Regions from separate parts of the Homo sapiens genome. Here region 2 is linked to region 1. Evidence: promoter capture Hi-C in human tissues and cell types (Jung and others, 2019). All regions are on one chromosome and are shown on one strand. The core of a region is centred on a gene start or on the middle of the fragment in contact, and the rest is flanking DNA. Distances in the headings are between cores, read along the strand shown.

Region 1 (5,020 bases), core at 348-2,847:
CAGGCATTCATGGTCCTTTGGTGTCTCTTGGCTGCCCTTCTGTCCCCTCTCCCCACTTAGAGGACATGAGTAAAGGTATTGGCCTACCTAGAGTTCCTGCCCCATCATCCACTCCCACGGGCTGATGGGACTCAGGATTCCAGGGTATTATGTGCCCTCTTCTATCCCGGTGCTCTGGCTGTGCCTGTCACTTTCTACTACCACCACCAACACACACACGCACACACACGCACACACGTGCACACACCCACATGCACACACATGCACACAAGCGCACACACACACACATGCACACATACACACATGCACCATAAGAGGGGGTGCCTATAATCTGTTGCTCTTGGCTTCTGCTTATAACTGTTCCATCCACCTAGACCACTGTCTCTAGTATCCATACCCACCTCTTAGAACCAGCCATCTGTAAATTCACTATTTGTGCCAAGCATTGTACTTCATATGCATTCATTCATTCATTGGACAAATATGTATTGAGACCTACTGCATGCTGGGCACCGTGCTGGTGCTGGGGATACAAGGGTGAACCAAATAGGCATCATCCCTGCCCCCAAGCAGCTGCTAGCAGACATTAATAGCTCATGTTCATTGAGTGCCTACTATATACCCACCCTGTATTAAACACTTTATGAGTTATCTGATTTAATCTGTCAGAGAAATTGTTTCATTTAAGGAGCACATCAAACTGAAACATAGAGAAAAGTGTGGACTTGCCCGAGACTGTTGGACGGCCTTGGCTGAGGGGTAAAGCAGGGACTCCAAAGCGCTGCCCTAACCACCACCTTTCCTTTCCCTGCCCCACTCAGATGCCACCTCCTCCAAGGGGCCTTCCAGAATCTTCTCCCAGACTCAAGGGCTGCCTTGGTCTCTCTAATCCAGCCTTCATATTTGACACAGCCATCTCCTCCCACAAGGATACCCAGAGGACTGGAGCCGTCTCTGCATCCTTCCTCAGGAGCGCTGCTGGATGAGCGACCCCCGAGCCCCTCCAAACGTGCTGTGGATGGAAACTACGGCCCTGGGCTCCTTCTCTGCCGTGGGTTTTCATCTCGCTGAATCGCAGATCTTCCGGAGGGGCCTCTGCATAGGGCAGACCCATCAAGGCGCCCATTTAACAGATGGGGCGGATAAGGCCCCAAGTGGGTAAAAGTTCCTTTATCTCCAGGCCGGGTCAAGGTCGACTCCCTTTTCTTCCAGCGAGCCTCGGCCCCTCCGCCAGATGCTTGGGTGGGGAGGGGACAAGGAAACGACCTCGTCTCCAAGACCCACTGGAGATGATCAGCCTCCCTCCCACCACCCCGGACCAACGCCCTCCCGCGCAGACCCCAGGCACTTCCTCCAACAGATGTGGGGGTGAGACTGGGGACCCCTCGTCCCCACCCCCGGGCCCTCCTTCGCCCAGCGCGGCCGGCAGGTGGACAGGAAGCCACCGCACCTGGGCCGGACCGCTCCTCGCTCCCCGCAGCCCCGGGCAACCCCGGCGACCAGGCGCCTCCTACCTGCTCTGTCGAGCCCCGCTCGGCCTCCCGCCGGCACCGCCGCGCTCCCAGCCAGGGTCCCCGCCGCCGCCCGGCGCTGCCACCCTGGGATCCCGCCCCCGCCCGGGGCGTCCCGCCCCCGGCCCCGCCCCGTGCAGGTGATCCTGGGGAGGCCGGAGAACGCGCCGGGGGTGCCAGGGTCCCGCACACTGGAGTGGCGGCGCCTCCCCGTGGTGTCCCCGCTCCTGGGTCCTTTTTGGGACTGGCTCTGGCACTCCCGGGCACTCAGTCCAGTAGAGAAGTCCAGCAGGAGGCTTCCAGGTCGGACTCCTCCGCGGGGTAAAGAGAGGGAAAGGGCCTCACAAACACACCCAGGTGAGCTCCAGGCACTTTGAGTAGGGTCTTTAAAGGAGCACGGCGCTAATCTGATTGAAGGTTTTGAGGGGCAGCTGGAGATTCAGACAACCACAGAACGTTAGACCGGGAGGAAACAGGCTTGGCAGCCGGCAAGTGTCAAGAACTCTTGCCGCTGTAGGATCAAAGGCTCCTTCCTCCCCAGGCTGTCGAGATTCCAGCTGTATCCCAGGAGCCCAGGGCGATATCCCTGGCAGGCAGCGGGTACTCAATCAATATTTATAGAAAGCGGGAAGAGATCTCGGAGAGGGGATCTCTTCTCTCAGAAACAGGGAAGCTGAGGCCCAGGAAGCAAAGGTGAGCACAAAGTCTTATAGCAGGTTAGTAACAGTATCAGGAGTGGAGGCTGGTTTCCCGGTTCTATTTTCAATTGATTTCCAGAAAGTGATTGCATCTGGGCCGACTGCCTTGCCGCTCAGTGCCTGTGAGATGCTTTCAAACTCTCCTCAGCTAAGAACTAAGATTTTTATAGGAAGAAAACACGTATTTTTATAGGAAACTCCAAGGTAGTATTTATTTATTTATTTATCTTTGAGACAGGATCTCACTCTGCAGCCCAGGCTGGAGTGTGGTGGCACAATCTCGGCTTACTGCAACCTCTGCCTCCTGGTTCAAGCGATTCTCTTGGCTTAGCCTCCCGAGTAGCTGGGATTACAGGCACATGCCACCACACCCGGCTAATTTTTTTGTGTGTGTATGTATATATATATTTTGGTAGGGACAGGGTTTCACCATGTTGGCCAGGATGGTCTTCAACTCTTGACCTCAAGTGATCCACCAGCCTTGGCCTCTCAAAGTGCTGGATGAGCCACTGCTCCCAACCCATTTTATTTTATGGAGACTGGGTCTTGCTCTCCTGCCCCAGCTGGAGTGCAGTGGCGGGATTTCGGCTCACTGCAGCCTCTAACTCCTGGGCTCTAGCGATCCTCCCACCTTGGCCTCCCAAAGTACTGGAATTACAGGCATGAGCCACCATGCCCAGCTGCAAGGTGGTATTAACAAATATTGATTGAGAGTATAATCCTGTAATTCTACTTTCTCATCAAAGACTTGAGACACTTGAGTATGGTCTTTAAGGAGCATGGTGCTAATCCATGGCTTCAAGAGCTTCCCTGTTGTGGGGGAGGCAGACCTGGTTACAGGGAGAGGCCACAATGTGGGGAGAGGAGTCCAGTGGGAGCCTGCTCTGGCCCTGAGGCCTGAGTTCCACAGTAAATGGCACTGGGGGGGGCCACTTCAGGATGCTTCTGGAAGTTTTTCCAGGTTTGTTTGTGGGGGCAAGAGCCCCCAGTGCATGGTCTCAGGTTCAAATCCTGGCTCCACTGCTTACTATTCGCAAGATGGGAGTAGTTTCTGAGACTGTTTCTTTCTGTAAAATGAAGAGAAGATACTTCAGTATAGTTGCGGTGAGGATTAGAAATGAGATCACACTTGTGAAGTGCCAGGTAAGTGGGAGAATGATTATGCCAAGTGGCAGGAGCTGGGAAGGGGGACTTTGATGTCTTAGGTCCTTCTCTGTGGGGTTTGGTAGTCTTCAGCCTTCTGTTATCTATGGCTCAAGCCCACCTTCTGCTTTGTCCCTTAATCCAGGCTGGCTAAGCCACAGGACACCTGCCCTGTCAGAATGAGTTTGTGCACACCGACAGTAAGGGGTTTGGGAAGGGAGCTCTTCCTTGCACCAGCCCTCCCATAACCAGGGTCAGAGACACCAGCCAAGCCCAGGAGGCAGAAGCATGAAAAGGCTCTTCATCGCGCTGCATATTCACTCATTAAGTGCTACAGAGTGTTCACTATAGGCCAGGCACTTTGCAAGGTGGGGCAGAGTCAGTGGTGGCCCCTCCCTGCCCTGTAGACCTCACCTTCCAGTGGGGCTGGGGTTGAAGGGACAGATGACCCAAGCACAAAAGATGGTAACAAAATAGTGAGACCATCTGAAAAGTTCTAAAGGAAATAATAATATGGTGTCATTGATTATTATGGGTGGGAGGGCAGGGGCTCCCACAGAAACCTATCTGCCAGGGGAGGACAGGGGAGCTGAGACCCAAAGGACAAGCAGGCAGGTGAGGAGGGGCTGGAGCTGGGGCCGGGGAGCACTCTAGAAGGGAGCAGGGTGGGATAGGGTGGGGGAAGCAGCAGGTTGGTTTGTGCAAAGATCCTAAGGCCAGTATAGCAACCAAAGCCAGGGGTGGTTTCAGGGAGAGTGGACAGAATGAGGTCAGAGGCAGGCAGAGATCAGATGCAAGGTCTTACAGGTCAGAGTAAGGATTTTATTCCAAGGACTAGGGAAAACCATGGAGGGTTTCCCGTTGCAATTAAGGAAAGCAACAGGCTGGGGGCGGTGGCACACGCCTGTAATCCCAGAACTTTGGGAGGCTGAGGCAGGAGAATCACTTGAGTCCAGGAGTTCAAGACTAACCTGGGCAACATGGCAAGGTCCCATCTCTACAAAACAAATTTTAAAAATTAGCCGGCCATGGTGGTGCATGGCTATAGTCCCAGCTGCTTGGGAGGCTGAGGTAGGAGGGTCACTTGGGCCTGGGAGGTAGAGACTGCAGTGAGCTGAGATCGCATCACTGCACTCCAGCCTGAGTGACAGAGCTAGACCCTTTCTCCAAAAAAAGAAAAAAAAAAAAAGGAGAAAGGGAAAAAAAAAGATTTTGAAAGCAATTTAATGGAATAAAAAAAAAGTGTGGTGATTTTTCATTTTTAAAATAAAGAGGATGTTTATATATAAATCAGTTTTATTAGTCAATGAAAATTGCTTATACAATTACCCAACATCCCAGCACTTTGGGAGGCCAAGGTGAGAGGATCACCTGAGGTCAGGAGTTCGAGACCAGCCTGACCAACATGGCAAAACCCTGTCTCTACTAAAAATACAAAAAAAAAAAAAAAAAAATAGCTGGGCGTGGTGGCGCACATCTGTGATCCCAGCTACTCGGGAGGCTGAGGCAGAAGAATCACTTGAACCCAGGAGGCAGAGGTTGCAGTGAGCCGAGATCACGTCGCTGCACTCCAGCCTGGGTGACAGAGCGAGACTCTATGTCAAAAAAAAGAAAAAATTACCCAACAAACCACTCCAGTTTCGGATGTTACCCTATGGAGTCTGAGGT
Region 2 (4,699 bases), core at 1,060-3,559, 58 kb before region 1:
AAAGGAGAAAATGCTTCCCAACTCATTCTATGAGGCCAGTATTACTCTGATATGAAAACCAAACAAAGACATCATAAGAAAACTACAGACCTATATGTCTTATAAATATAGATGCAAAAATCCTCAACAAAAACATATGAAAATCAATAGAGGTAATATCCCATATTAATAGAATAAAATATGAAAACAATATGATTATCTTGATAAATATAGAAACAGCATTTGGCAAAATTCAACTCCCTTTCCTGATAAAAACACTCAAAGTAGAAACAGAAGTTAATTTCCTCAACCTAAAAAAGGCCATCTGCAGAAAAATTCATGGGTATCATCATATTTAATGATGAAAGACTGGTTGCTTTCCTCTAAGATCAGGAAGAAGACAAAAATGCCTGCTCTCATCACCTCTATTCAACCTAGTACTGGAAGTTCTAGCCAGAGCAATTCGGTAAGAAAAAGAAATAAAAGGTATCCAGATTGTAAAGGAAGAAGTAAAATGACCTCTATTTGCAAATGACATGATCTCATATGTAAAAACCCTAAAGATCCCACAAAAAACAAAAAACCTGTTAGGGCTAATTTTAAAAATTCCTCAATATTGCAGTATACAAAATCAACAGGCAAAATTAGTTGCATTTCTATGCACTAGCAATGAAAAATTCAAAAAGGAAATTAAAACATTTATGATAGTATCAAAAAGCATAAAATACTTAGAGAAATATTTAGCAAAAAAGGTGAAAGATTTGTACACTGAAAACCAAAATTTCTTTGCAAAAATTAAAGAAGACCAAAATAAATAAAAATACATCCATGTTCATGGAACAAAAGACTTAATGTTATTAAAACGGCAATACTACCCAATTTGATCTACAAATTCAACTTAATTTCTATCAAAATCCCAGCTGCCATTTTTGCAAAATTGACAAGCTGATACTAAAATTCATACAGAGATACAAGAAACCTAGAATAGCCAAAATAATCTTTTTCTTTTCTTTTTTATTTTTTTTGAGACGGAGTTTTGCTCTTGTCCCCCAGGCTGGAGTGCAATGGTGTGATCTCAGCTCACTGCAACCTCCGCCTCCTGGGTTCAAGCGATTCTCCTGCCTCAACCTCTGAAGTAGCTGGGATTACAGGCAGGCACCACCATGCCCGGCTAATTTTTAGTAGAGTTGGGGTTTCACTGTGTTAGCCAGGCTGGTCTCAAACTCCTGACCTCAAGTGATCCCTCCACCTTGGCCTCCCAAAGTGCTAGGATTTCAGGCATGAACCACCACGCACGGCCCAAAATAATCTTGAACAAGGAAAACAAAGAGGGAGGACAGGAAAAAGTTTGAGGACTCACACTTCCTGATTTCCAAACTTATTATAAATCAACACAGTGTGATAATGGTAGAAGAATAGAAATATAGATCATGGAACAGAATTCAGAGTCCAGGTATAAACCCTCCTATTTATGGTCAACTGTTTTTTGACTAGAGTACCAAGATAATTCAATGGGAAAAAATAGTCTTTTCAACATACGGTGCTGGGAGAAGTGAATATCTACATGCAAAAGGATAAAGCTGGTCCCCTATCTCATACCATATATAAAAATTAACTCAATAACTTGGTCCTCAGTTTGATCAGAATAAAAAGAAAAAAATTAACTCAAAATGGATCATAGACCAAATTTTAAGAGCTAAAACTAGAAAACACTTACAAGAAAACATGGGAGTAAACCTTCATTACTTTGGATCAGGCAATGATTTCTGAGATATGAAATCAAAAGCACAAGTGACAAAAGACAAAAATAGATGAATTGGGCTTTGTCAAAATTAAAAATGTTTGGGCCGGACATGGTGGCTCACGCCTGTGATCCCAACACTTTGGGAGGCTGAAGCGGGCAGACCACCTGAGGTCCGGAGTTTGAGACCAGCCTGACCAACATGGTGAAACCTTGTCTGTACTAAAAATACAAAAATTAGATGGGAGCGGTGGTGCGCGCCTGTAATCCCAGCTACTCAGGAAGCTGAGGCAAGAGAATTGCTTGAACCTGGGAGGTGGAGGTTGCAGTGAGCCAAGATTGTGCCATTGTTCTCCAGCCTGGGAGACAGAGCAAGACTCTGTCTCAAAAAAAAAAAAAAAAAATAATAATAATAATAATAATAATAATTTAAAACATTTGTGCTGCAAAGGACATCACCAAGAAAGTGAAGAAAAGACAACCCACAGAACAGGAGAAAATGTTTGCAAATTATATATCTTATAAGGGACTTGTATCCAGAATATAGAAAGAATTCTTACAAGTCAAAACAACAAAAATCAAATAACCCAATTTAAAAATGAGCAAAGAAGTTGCAATAGACATTTCTTCAAAAATGATATAAAAATCACCAATCTGTACATGAAAAAGATGTTCAATATCATTCACTAGGGAAATGCAAATCAAAACCACCATGAGATACCATTTCTTACTTATTAGGATGGCTAGAATAGAAAAGATGGACAATAACAAGTGTTAATGAGGAAGCGGAGGAATGAGAACCCTCATACATTACTGGTGACGATATTAAATGGTGGCGCCACTTCAGAAAACAGTTTGGCATTTCCTCAAAAGGTTAAACATAGAGTTATCATATCCTGCAGCAATTCCTCTCCTAAGGTATATGCCCAAGAGAATTAGAGCCTATGTCTGCACAAAAACTTGTACATAATGTTCACGGCACCATTATTATTATTATTATTTGTTTATTTTTGAGATGGAGTCTCACTTTGTCACCCAGGCTGGAGTGCAGTGGCACAATCTCGGCTCACTGCAACCTCAGCTTCCCGGGTTCAAGCAATTCTCCTGCCTCAGCCTCCCGAGTAGCTGGAATTACAGGCATGGGCCACCATGTCCAGCTAATTTTTGTTTTTTTTTTTTTTTTTTTTTAGTAGAGAAGGAGTTTCACCATGTTGGCCAGGCTGGTTTCAAACTCCTGACTTCAAGTGATCCGCCTGCCTCAGCCTCCCAAAGTACTGGAATTACAGGTGTAAACCACCGCGCCCGGCCTCACAACACCATTATTTATAATAGCCCAACAGTGGAAACAACCCTGTTGTTCACCTGATGAATGGATAAACAAAATGTGATATATCTATATAATGGAATATTATTCGGCCATAAAAAGGAATGAAATAGTGATACATGCAACAACATAGATGAACCTTGAAAAGTTATGTTAACCAGAAGAAGCCAGTCACAAAAGACCACATAGTGTGATTCCATTACATGAAATGTCCACAATAGGCAAATCCATAGAGACAAAAAGTAGAGTAGTGGCTGCCAGGGGCTGGGGAGAGAGGGCAGTGGGAAGTGACTGCTAACGGGCACTGGAGGTTCTTTTGGGGATGATAAATTTGATAGTGGTGATGGCTGCACAAGTCTGTGAATATATTAAAACCACTGAATTGGGCCCTTTACAGAGGTGAACTTTATAAATAAATTCTATCTCAATAGAGCTATTTTTTTTCTTTTAAAGGCAAGCCAGAGGTGGCTCATGCCTGTAATCCAAGCACTTTGGAAGGCCAAGGCAGACGGATCACTTGAGATCAGGCGTTTGGGACCATCCTGGCCAACGTGGCGAAAACCCGTCTCTACTAAAAATACAAAAATTAGCTGGGTGTGGTGGTGCATGCCTGTAATCCCAGCTACTTGGGAGGCTGAGGCAGGAGAATCACTTGAACCCGGGAAGCGGTGGCCGCAGTGAGCCGAGATCACAGCACTGCACTCCAGCCTGGGCTACAAATGGAAACTGTCTCAAAAAATAAAAAAAAAAAATAAAAGAACTTAAAAAGGCAAGCTATAGGACAACAAAGGACTTATTAATATATCCAGAATGTGGCCGGGTGTGGTGGATCACACCTGTAATCCCAGCACTTTGGGAGGCTGAGGTGGGCAAATCGCAAGGTCAAGAGATCAAGACCATCCTGGCCAACATGGTGAAACCCTGTCTCTACTAAAAATACAAAAAAAAAAAAAAAAATTAGCCAGGTGTGGTGGTGCGTGCCTGTAGTTCCAGTTACTTGGCAGGCTGAGGCAGGAGAATCGCTTGAACTTGGGAGGCAGAGGTTGCAATGAGCCGAGGTTGTGCCACTGCACTCCAGCCTGGGTGACAGAGTGAGACTCTACACCCCCCCCAAAAAAGAAAAATATCTACAAATAATAATAAAAATGGAAGATAACCAAATACAAATATATGAACTGAGCTGATCACAGTGGCTCATGTCTGTAATCCCAGCTACTCGGGAGGCTGAGGCAGGAGGATTGCTTGAGGTCAGGAGTTCAAGGCCATCCTGAGCAACATAACAAGACTTTGTATTAAAAAAAAAGTAAAACCAAAAAATAGACTGAAAAGTAACTTCTTAAAAGATGAAATTCAGTTGGCCAATGACATAAGAAAAAGTGATCAATTCCATTAATCATCAGGGAATACAAATTAAAGCCACAATGAGAGACCATGGCACACATATCAGGATGACTGAAATTAAAGATTTTGGAGATATCCTAGTGTCAGTGAAGGATGGGGAGCAACTGGAATTCTCATACGTTGCTAATGGGAATGGATATTGGTACAACTCTTTGGAGAACTGTTTGTCTCTGTTGACTAAGGCTGAGTATACACATATCTTATGACCTAGCAATTACTCTACTGGAAATGTTCCCAACAGAAACATATATACA

Evidence for each region. The method cuts DNA at HindIII sites, captures the fragments that hold promoters and counts their contacts. A contact is called where the count stands out against the background at its distance.
Region 2: a contact is called between a fragment that was not itself captured here and the fragment with the promoter of NCMAP in region 1, in 1 of the 25 tissues and cell types used here (hippocampus).

What each region holds. Positions count from the first base shown.
Region 1 is chr1:24,552,664-24,557,683 of GRCh38, reverse strand. NCMAP (non-compact myelin associated protein) reads right to left here and starts at 1,597. Exons shown (of 4, transcript NM_001010980.5): 1 at 1,515-1,597. NCMAP-DT (NCMAP divergent transcript) reads left to right here and starts at 1,660. Exons shown (of 3, transcript NR_109781.1): 1 at 1,660-1,868. The HindIII fragment of the contact is 18,614 bases long and covers 1-5,020 here.
Region 2 is chr1:24,611,673-24,616,371 of GRCh38, reverse strand. No RefSeq gene overlaps it. Among named protein-coding and RNA genes, the nearest start is that of SRRM1, 29 kb to the left of the region's middle. The HindIII fragment of the contact is 7,723 bases long and covers 1-4,699 here.